2 separate regions of the Homo sapiens genome follow, and region 2 is linked to region 1. The links are contacts of gene promoters, found by promoter capture Hi-C in blood cells and fetal thymus (Javierre and others, 2016). All regions are on one chromosome and are shown on one strand. The core of a region is centred on a gene start or on the middle of the fragment in contact, and the rest is flanking DNA. Distances in the headings are between cores, read along the strand shown.

Region 1 (5,255 bases), core at 843-3,342:
TGTGTCATCTTCATCCTTCTTACTCATGACACTCTGTATCACCTAGTGTACTCTAAGGAGCTGAAGAAATGTCTACTGGGCAGATTACTGAACCATGTTTGCGCTTGGAGGGCCCTCAGCTATGGACCACACCTATGGCACAAACAGGAATTACGCATTGGCTAAACAGGTCATGTCTTTCTGAAGCACCCATTTTGACTCAATTTTTCAGGAGAGGAGACATTTATATAAATTGTGTTTGTGTGTGTGTGTATGTAGTGAGTTGAATTCAAAATATACACTAAACTTTAAGTAAGTAAAACGGGAACTTCAACAAAGCAAAGTTACCATGGGGCTCCTTGAGCACCCTGTTTGGGAGCATGTATTCCCTCTTCTCTGCTGTCCTTTGGTAGCTTGCCACCTTAGGAGTAGAGAAGTCACACCTCCATGATTAAAAAGAAAGTCAGCCGGGCACGGTGGCTCACGCCTGTAATCCCAGCTCTTTGGGAGGCCAAGGCAGGCGGATCACCTAAGCTCAGGAGTTTGAGAGCAGCCTGACCAACACGGAGAAACCCCATCTCTACTAAAAATGCAGAATTAGCTGGGCGTGGTGGTGGGTCCCTGTAATCCCAGCTACTTGGGAGGCTGAGGCAGGAGAATCGCTTGAACCCGGGAGGTGGAGATTGCGGTGAGCTGAGATTGCACCTTTGCACTCCAGCCTGGGCAACAAGAGGGAAACTCTGTCTCAGAATTAAAAAAAAAAGAAAGTTAATGACAATGACAAAGCTAGAATTAAAGCTGTTTTCAGATATCTGGTGTTCTTTTCATTCTACTGCCCAAGTTAGCTGTCTCCTTGCACCTATAGCATGGTCAAATGCATCCTAATGCACTCTCAATAAATATGTTCAGATACAAATTCCATTCAGCATATTAAATTTAGGCCGAAGGGGAGAAGGTCAAAAGGAGTCATAGTCTGGAGATATCTTCAGTAATAGGTGTATGGCATGTTTATAGATTTCATATTTAAATTTACTTTATAGGTAGCTTTCCTAGCATATGTGCTCCTATTCTATGATGGTGGTTCATTCAAATCCTACCCACCCCGTCTAATGTTCTCAGTGTGTACCTTTACTTTTAAAGGGCATCATTTAAAGAGGATGGAAGAAATACAGTGTGGGTACTATATTTTGTCCTGAGGACAAAATGCTAGGTATGACGCAAGGACTTAAGACTATCGTCCCAACAGTGCCCTGCTGCTGCACAAAAACACCTAGCATTTGTCTAGGGATTTTCATTTACAACAAAGCTTTGACACACATGATCTTATTCACTCCCCACAACAACTCTAAACTAGTTCGGGAACCTGAAAATAGCACTCAATTCAATTGCTAGCTGTATGTAAGTGTTTTGGTTATAGAACCTAACAATCCCCTAGGGATTAAGCGGTGGGCGCCTGCTGCTTCAACAACCCTGCAGCAAGGGAATAAAGGAACAACTGTATTTCTTCGGTCACAACGTAATCACGACAACAGAAAGCACTCACTCTTTCCACTCTGACCCACACACAGTCTGTCGAGGCAATTAATCAGCACTCCCGGTGGTTTTCCTATAGGATGCCAGTTCCCTTGCCAATCAAGTCTTTCCACAGACTGTAGCAGGACCACACCCCCGGAGAGGCCTCAGGGAGGGAAGGTGCTGTGGCCCACAGAAGTGAAAGCTGATACTCAGGTTGACCCGCCAGTGAAACTTACAGGCGGATCTTCCCGGGCCTCAGTTTCCCCATCTCTAAAATGGGCTACCCTTCCTTTCTCTTGACTAGTTCCCTCCCTGTTCTCGCTGGGCCACTAGGAAGTGAAATCAGTGCCTAACCGCAGCTGAAAGTGCTCTGTTAGGCTCCAGTCACCGCGCCGGGCATGCTCAGTAGCTGGGGCCGGCTCGGCTGCGGGAGTAGGAAGCAGCTTTGCGCGCCCGGGCGGCCGATGCGGGCACTTTGAAGAATCACGTGTGTTGAGGCCCTCTTAAAGAGATAGGCACCTACTTTTCCCTCCACCCTAAACACCGCCCTGAGGGCGGCGGCGACCGTGGTAATTGCAACTGCTCAGGGGCAGGGCTTGCCCCAGCGCCGAGTAGTGGCAACGGCGTGGTTGCGTCGGGGGTGCCTGGGAGCCTGGAGTCCCGGGGGCCTGAAATCGGCAGCTTCCCGGGCAGACACTCTCTCCCTCAGGAAGAGGTGCCGCCGAGTCAGCGCGGGGCAGTGTGAGCGCCCCGAGGTGCTTTCTCAGTTGAGGAGAGGTGGGGTTACAGGGCACAGGTGACAGGGCCGGAGAAAGATGGAGCAGCCCGGGGCGGCGGCGTCGGGAGCGGGAGGCGGCAGCGAGGAACCCGGTGGGGGCCGGAGCAACAAGCGGAGCGCGGGGAACCGGGCCGCCAATGAAGAGGAAACGAAAAACAAACCCAAATTGGTGAGTGCTCCCGCAGCCCCCGCCGGCCTTAGGGACAGGGAGAGCCCCGGGATCCTCCTGCCATTGAACACGGGGGCACCCGGGGCCCCCTCCCAAGGATGACCGCGACCTCGCTGTGCAACTCGGGGAGCCGCTAAAGGAGTGGCCACGCCGAGGCGCGGAGACGGCGTGGGGGCGGAAGAGCACCCCCTTCTCTACTTAACCCCTTTCTCACTCTTGTCAGCCCGGGAGGCGGTGCGGGAAGGAGAAAGGCCCAGCCCCAACTTGGGGACACCCCGAGTACTGGGTAGGGCTGTTGTTTGTCTAACTTGTGGGCGCAAACCTTTGCGCGATTCCATTCTCCTCCCACTTCTTGTTAGTTGCTGTTTTGCCTCCTAACGCGTAGGGTCCGGGGCAGGGGAACCTCCCTCCTTTTTATTCCAAGTCCTTGGGAGCCCACCTACAGCTTCGCAAATCAAGAAGAACACTATTTATGCTCCCAGTCTTTCTACTTTACCAGAAATCTCAGGAAGAGGCGCCTACGTGCCTTTTTCCTCCTCCTTGCCTCTCTCCATGTGCTCTCCCAAGAAATGTTTCTTTGGAAGGGTGGGGGCGCGTGGGAGTTTGAGGCTGGGTGAGGTACCACCAACTGTCGAGTGTGTGTAATAGGCATAGTCATACAGTACTTCCACTTAGTTGATTAAGAACGCTCAAAAGCAGTAGGCACAAACTGTGCAAATCTCACCGTGCTGATAGTGTGAACCGATGGTAGCAGTCCATTTCCTGCCACTGAATGTGCAGAGGAATGAAATCGATGAGGCCTGGTATTGCATTGGGAAATACTGGAGTTTCCTCAGCTCATCAGAAGGGTTCCGCTTTTTGTAAACTTTCTAATTTGGGTGGTGTGAGGGGAAAGGGTTTTCCTGTACAAATTCAGCAGATACTCCTTAGAGCTGTATTCTTAGTCCAGATCCGAAGCACAAGCCACATGTTGAATGTATAGATTTCAGCTTTAACTACCAACTTGATTATAATAGACAAGGAGAGGGTGACATATAAATAAAGCCGTTTCTTATGGCATCTGGCCATTTGGTTTGGATCCAGTACAAAACTGTGGTTTAATCAGTGATTAAAAATTTAAGTAAAAAGTTAACTGATAGTTTCCACAAATGGTTTGGTACGTCTAGCAAGAATCTGCCACTTTTAAGAAGTATGCTTTCGAGAAAAAAAAAAACACTTATCTCTGTTAGTAGTAACACCTTGATTATATTCTTCTCTTCCCTTTAGCCATTTGTCCTGATTCATCTTTTATGTTTTACTTGCTTTGACAAGGTAACTAGATAGTTATGAGATCGTATCATTTTCAGTTCCTAGCTAACTTCACTGTTCCGGTTCCTAGCTAACTTCACTGTTCCGTGTTGAACATAGCTTGATACGGTAGAACAAGATTTGAATCCAAGAGTTTGTTAATATTAACATGAATTTTCTTTTTTTGCTCAAACATAACTTTTGAGCCTTACGTGATTTTACAAGCAGATGTGTCAGAGTTAACAAAAACAAATTTAGGAAGACATTGTGGCACATTTTAAGGCAAGCAAGTTGACCAAACAGTAAGATTTAGTAAGCTTTTCAGGAAAGAATTCATCTGGGATTCTTAGAAGTTTGCTAGTAAGATACAACTTTACTTAGATGAAATTTTTTTATTTTGAGTATTATGTTAATAATCTCTGAACTAGTCCTTAATTTGTGTGTGTATATGAGTGTAAAGGAGTTGTGGTATGGGATTATAAAAGAGAGCCATATGGTGATAGAAATTATTTGTGTAGGTGATCTTGGGGCATAGGGGTTCTTAAACTCCTGAAATTGTATGAAAATATTTGAGTGTATATGGGTACATTTATTTTTCTGGGCCCCATGGCTTTCATCAGTTTTTCAAAGGCATCCATTACCTATAGAAGAGTAAGAACTATGGCATTACAAAAGATAGAAAGTAAAGGAAAGAATAGTTGATTCCACTCTAAGTTACTGAGTAGGGAAGAAGGGGAAATGGCATTGACCACACAGGTGATTGATATTGAAACGAATTCTTCTAGTGGTAAAAAAGAAGTTAACTACTCAATGTCTACATAGATTAAAATTTCCGCTACAGAGGAAAATTAATTCAGTCGCTCCAGTATAATGGATTCATAAGGTATAAGGCTTGTGTAGTTTGGTTGTTTTCATTTAGTTCCTCAGAATTCTGGAAAAATGGAAATGGAACACATATTTTCTTTTCTTTTTTTTTTTTTGGGACGAAGTCTCGCTCTGTTGCCATGGCTGGAGTCCAGTGGCGCGATCTTGGCTCACTGCAACCTCTGCCTCCCGGGTTCAAGTGATTCTCCTGCCTCAGCCTCCTGAGTAGCTGGGATTACAGGCACGTGCCACCACACCCAGCTAATTTTTGTATTTTTAGTAGAGACGGGATTTCACCATGTTGGTCAGCCTGGAAAGCAGATTTTCTATAGAGAGGAACTGCTTTCATTTATATCCTCAACTTTTTAATGAGTATTAGTGAGAAATTTTTCAGAGTGGCATTTCAACACTATAATGATTTCTATTTAAGATTACTTAAATAAAAATTTAATGGAATTCACTTCAGTTTTTTTCATATAAGCATCCTCATAATGACCCTTTTGTTTTGATTCTTTTAAAATAAGGCATTCCTGTCTTGGACTCATCACATTTTGAATAATGCATTAGTAGTAGAGTTTTGGATTTTATGTAACTATTTTGGTTAGGCCCAGATTGCAACATGTCATCAAACAGCATGAATCTTAGATTAATTTGTAATTTGAT
Region 2 (5,255 bases), core at 1,469-3,968, 1.0 Mb after region 1:
AGAAACTGACCACCTGATACTTTTTAAAAGCTTGTTAAAGGCCCTATCAGATCCAAACATCTCTCTCAATAATCTATCAAAATGTGACTCTCTTCTTTCTCATGTTCCCATAGTTATTTTGGAGGAGAAAATGAAGTCAGCTCAACATTTTATTTTTAATCAAATGTTTTATCCTCAGATGCACTGGTTGACATATTACATATGTCAGACCATGACCAGAATAGTGGACTCAAGTGTCTTGACATATTGGTGTGTCACAGTCAGTTGTGCGATATCACAAGCCATATGATGGAGTCAAACATTCTGAAGTTTAAAAGACCTACTTCAAAAAGAATATAAAATTACAGCAGACTCAAGGATAGTCCTATAATACCACCATTTCTAGTTTCTAGTCCTATGCTTTTTCTTTTTGTTCCAGAGACACCCAGGCTGGAGTGCACAGTCACAGCTCACTGCAGCCTCAACTCCTGGGCTCAGGCAATTCTCCCACCTCAGCCTCCTGAGTAGCTGAGACTACAGGCGTGCACCACCATGCCCAGCTTAGTTTTTATTTTTTGTAGAGATGGGGTCTCCCTACATTGTCTAGCTTGGTCTTGAACTCCTGGCCTCAAATGACCCTCCCACCTCAGCCTCTCAAAGTGCTGGGATTACAGGCATGAGCCACCATGCCTGGCCAATATGATTTCTTGAGTGGACAAAAATTACAGATTGTGCACAAGGCATTGCATAAATGCTGGCATGTTATAGGAGCTGGGTCATAGATGTAATATCATCAGAAACATGCATTGCCATGGAAATCAAGTTTAAAAACTCCTGCATTAAGAACCTCGAAGAGCTTGAGAAAAGGTATAGGACAGATTAATTTCAATTTGATTGTGGGACTAGGGAGATGTTGTGAGAGAAGCTCTGGGCAGGCTCTGCAAAAGGTGTGGGTGGGAAGCTATATCCTGGACAGGAAGGAGAGAACCAGAACAGGTCCTTGGAGAGAAGGCTGCTAAAGTAGATATGAGGGAAGGGGAAAGAAGGCAGGGCATGGAAGAGAATCTTCACATATCTTATAATTTTGCCCAGGACAAGTCCTGTTTGTGCAACCTCATTATCATATACTTAACATTTTTTCATCAGGACAAACTTTCTGTAATGAGATTCCACCTGTCTCATTAACAAGTTAATCAAAGCATTCATGAGCCATACACAGAAACCCACAAGCTCATCTCTTAACACTTGGCAATCTGTACAGCACTTGAGGAAAAAAAGATTGAATACACATGCCAAGGCCAATTTATCTCAAATTAGCAACCAAGAAAATAAATGTAAGAGTAAATGGCAGAAAGGGATCATGATAGTCCATTTCCGTAGGGAGGTGGACTAATAGACGCCCACAGATGAGCTCTAAGTACCTGAATAAGTATTGTGATATTTTCTGTCCTTCATATTTCTAGTTTGCTGTTTTGACCTTCAAGGGAATATTCACAATGTTAAAATGAAAAGGAAAAAAACTTGCACATCCTCAAATTAGGTATGCTGCCACCAGGTGGTTGTAGTATGGCACAGCCATGTCGTCCAGGCAATTAGCATACAGTATAAACAGGTGTCTTAGAAAGAGGATTAGCACACTATTCCCATATTCTATTTTTAAAAAGTTATTACAACGAAAAAGCTTTGGTTAAATGTATAAGGAGATAATTTGCTTATAGATTTTAAGATTTTGCTTTGTTTCAGTTTTGTCTTTGTAAAGAAATGTATGCTTATGTACAATTTGGTATCAGTTTTACTAATCTTTAATTTTGTGATATCACTTTGAATTATACGTTGTAGTCAAAAAGCCACCCTGTAGGCTGGGCCTCAACCTCCTGTAACTTACACTGGATATCAAAATGACCAGGGTACTTATCTCTCAGTGAGGGGCCTACTCTTTTGTCTTTTTGTAGGTAGCCAATTCAACTTGCCTAACTGGTCTGAGATAAGTTCTTTTTGACTTTTCAGTTTACAGAAGCCCTTCTTCTTTTCTCTAAACCTAACCAGGGAATAAGTTAAGAAAAGCACCTTGCTATTTAGACCAATAGTTTGTGTTCTCCATGATGTTATTTGCCATATTTCATCAATAAAGTGTATTGAAGGGAACACCATGGATTTACTAACACTTTCTTTATGGTGTGAAAAGTAGGGAGAAATGTACTCATTCATTATATGAAAAATCCCAACTGGAGATGCCTTAAAATGTGCAAAATATATATTAGTTAGAATTGATAAAATAAGGCAGTAATCTCTCTAATAGACCATTTAATTGCTTTGACTAAAACTACAAGTTCCTTGATTTGCACAAAAAGGTCTCTGATTTGCTTCGCATATCACTTCTAGCTATGTAGTTGAGAGAGTGGCCAGAAAGATCTTTCCAAAACTGGGTTTTTAAAAGGCCAATATTCCATGCTTAAAACAGAATATTCTGAATTAGAAATACATTGGTAGAAAAATTTGTATTGATTATACCATAATATGTCCAACTCTTACGTTTGGATTATGTGAGATTAATATCATCATATCATCATCATCATCATCATCATTGCCATCCACCATTCAGCTATTTCTTGAGCAATTACTACTCACCAGGCTCTGTGCTAGGTGCTGCCTATTGTTACAACAGAACTCAACCAAAGATATCCTGTCAGTTATTCACAAGCCCTCTGGCAACACCTTCTTCATGCTGCAAACCCACATGCACTGTATTTTCGCTATAGCTTTCCATGAAAGAGCAGATGTTATAAAGATCACCCGAAAGTGAATCAGAAGAGTCACAGTCTTTGATGCAACATATAGTAGCACATTCAGGACTCTGTATTTGGCTATGTGAAATTGTTTGGGGAGAATCAAATCTTTCTGGAGCCTTGACTTATCTGTACTTTTATCGTGCCATTTTATGTGTCTTATCTCATATAGGCAATTTAAGTAAAATGACCCATTTACCTGATGTGGCATTTGTTACAAAGGTCATTTCCCACTGTGCCATAGTGAAATAATTAGCATGATGATGTGATGTACGTCTGTTTTGGTATTGTTCTGAACACAGATAATTTATCCCAAAGCATTGTCTTTTGGCACCAAGACATTTATCTGTTCTTCAAAGGTACTTCTGCAAGAGATGATATTATGAAGATAATGAAAGTATGTCCATTACTTTCAGAACGAGTCATTTAGCAAGATGACAAGTGTTGTCCAGGCTTTGTTGCCGGAGTTCTCTGTCTTTTGGGTTCTGACAGTCAGACCACAGGAAAGTGAGCAACTTTAGCATCTGTTGTTGCTTCCTCCTCCCAATCTAAAACATTATTTTTATATAGGGAAAGAATGCAAATTGAGAAACACTTTAGTTTTCTATAATATCATTTATGTACACAGGGGGTTTCGACACTTTTTCTTACCCAGGAATTACTTCCTCATTGTCCACCACCACTATAAGAATGAGAAGGTAGATGTTATCATGTCAGCTTAAAATTCACAGGCAGTTTTCACAAAAGAAGAAAATGGGTTAGGCATGCAGGAAAGAAAGGGTTTCATAAACTATTTGCACAAGAAAAATAAATGATGTTTCCAAAAGACACAAAAGAATGACAGGTAAGATTGCCAATTCAAGATGGCAGATTTAATGAAAAAATTAGCCTCTGATTTCTCCTACAACATTACAAAAATTAAAATAAAGGGATACCATAAAAGGCATAAGCCTCCAATGGAAAGTAAATATGAGAGGTGAGCAGGTAATATTAATAAAATTTTGGGAGCTGGAAAGCTTATGGCCAAGTAATACGTGATTTTAAAATAAAATAAAAAAAAGGCCTAATCCTAAACTGGCAATGGGAAAAGAGAAACAATTTACATTGGCAAATTTTATATTAAGAAACAATTAACAGCCTGGGCAACATGGTGAAACCCCATCTCTACAAATAATAATAAAAAAAAATCAGCTGGACGTGGTAGCGCATGCCTGTAGTTCCAACTACTCAGGAGGCTGAGGTGGGATGATCACCTGAGCTTGGGAGGTCAAGGCTGCAGTGAGCCGTGATCGTGCCACTGCACTCCAGTCTGGGCAACAGAGTGAGACTCTGTCTCAACACAGACAAACTGAAAAACAATTAGATCTAACAAATATCCTCTTCTTCTGAATGCATTGGAGAACCAGCCTTCCTACACCTTGACAGAAGATTGTGAATTTATTTTCTGCAGAAGGTAAAATAGAGGTTCTGGGAAGGGAATGCCAGTCACAGTGGAGGGTTGGGTACTATACTGAAAACAGAAGTATTAAGTCAAAATGTACACTGGGTACTGTAATGAAAACAGGAGTGTTAGTTGAATCTTGAGATCCCCAGCCGTCTCTCCCAACTCCTGTCTCAGAACACCATCATCTAGGCAAGAAATCTGAAGTGCTTTCTTTGGTGAATCTAACTCACATAACAGGAAAGACCTAAAAATACTGAAATCAGTTATTCCCCAAAGAAATGACTCAACCAGAGTACCCTACAAGGAAACATACAAGCTCAGAGCTTATAATTGGCTTTTCAGTTTCTCATTCTTCAATATGAGCAGACAGCCAAGGATGACCAGACAAATGAGGAAAGTCTCAAATATGAATGACAGAGACCATAACAACAAACAAGCACATATATAAAAATCAAACAAAAGTAACCGGGTAGGAACAGACTATGCAGTGAGATATATTATATGAGAAAATATCCATGAAATAATAACAAGTTTTATACACATACACAAACATTCAGGAAATAAGGAAAATATCCTAGAAATTAAAAATATAGCAGAAATACACTCAAAAGATAAAGTTTTAAAGATGAGTTTTAAAGATAAAGTTTTAAAGATAAAGTTATTGGAAAGCAATTAGGAAGTAGAGCAAAAAGAATGATAGAAACAAATAGAAAATTAGAGGATTATTACAGGAAACTCAACATTATAATATTAAGGAGTTTCAGAAAAAGAGGACAGAGAAAATGTAGGAAAGAAGATCAAAGGAATAATTCAAGAAAAATTTCCACTCCTACAAGGCATAAATCTCCATATTGAAAAGGCCCAGGGCTAAAGCACATCACTATGAAATTTCAGGATATCTGGGACCAAGAAGAGATACTACAAACATTCAGGAGGATGAACCAGACTCAGAATGGCATAAAACTCAATTGCAATATGGGAAGCTAGAAGCTGATGGCACAAACTTTCAAAATGTTAAGAGAAAATTATTATCGACCTAGAATGCT

What was found. The method cuts DNA at HindIII sites, captures the fragments that hold promoters and counts their contacts. A CHiCAGO score of 5 or more calls a contact.
Region 2: a fragment that was not itself captured here is called in contact with the fragment with the promoter of DIAPH2 in region 1 in 2 of 17 cell types (total B cells and M2 macrophages); the score reaches 6.2 in total B cells.

The regions. Positions count from the first base shown.
Region 1 is chrX:96,682,750-96,688,004 of GRCh38, forward strand. It overlaps DIAPH2 (diaphanous related formin 2), which reads left to right and starts at 2,093. Exons shown (of 27, transcript NM_006729.5): 1 at 2,093-2,441. The coding sequence starts at 2,310. RefSeq lists enhancers at 1,881-2,596, 2,597-3,310. The HindIII fragment of the contact is 2,760 bases long and covers 1,284-4,043 here.
Region 2 is chrX:97,684,419-97,689,673 of GRCh38, forward strand. No RefSeq gene overlaps it. Among named protein-coding and RNA genes, the nearest start is that of DIAPH2-AS1, 120 kb to the left of the region's middle. The HindIII fragment of the contact is 2,121 bases long and covers 1,659-3,779 here.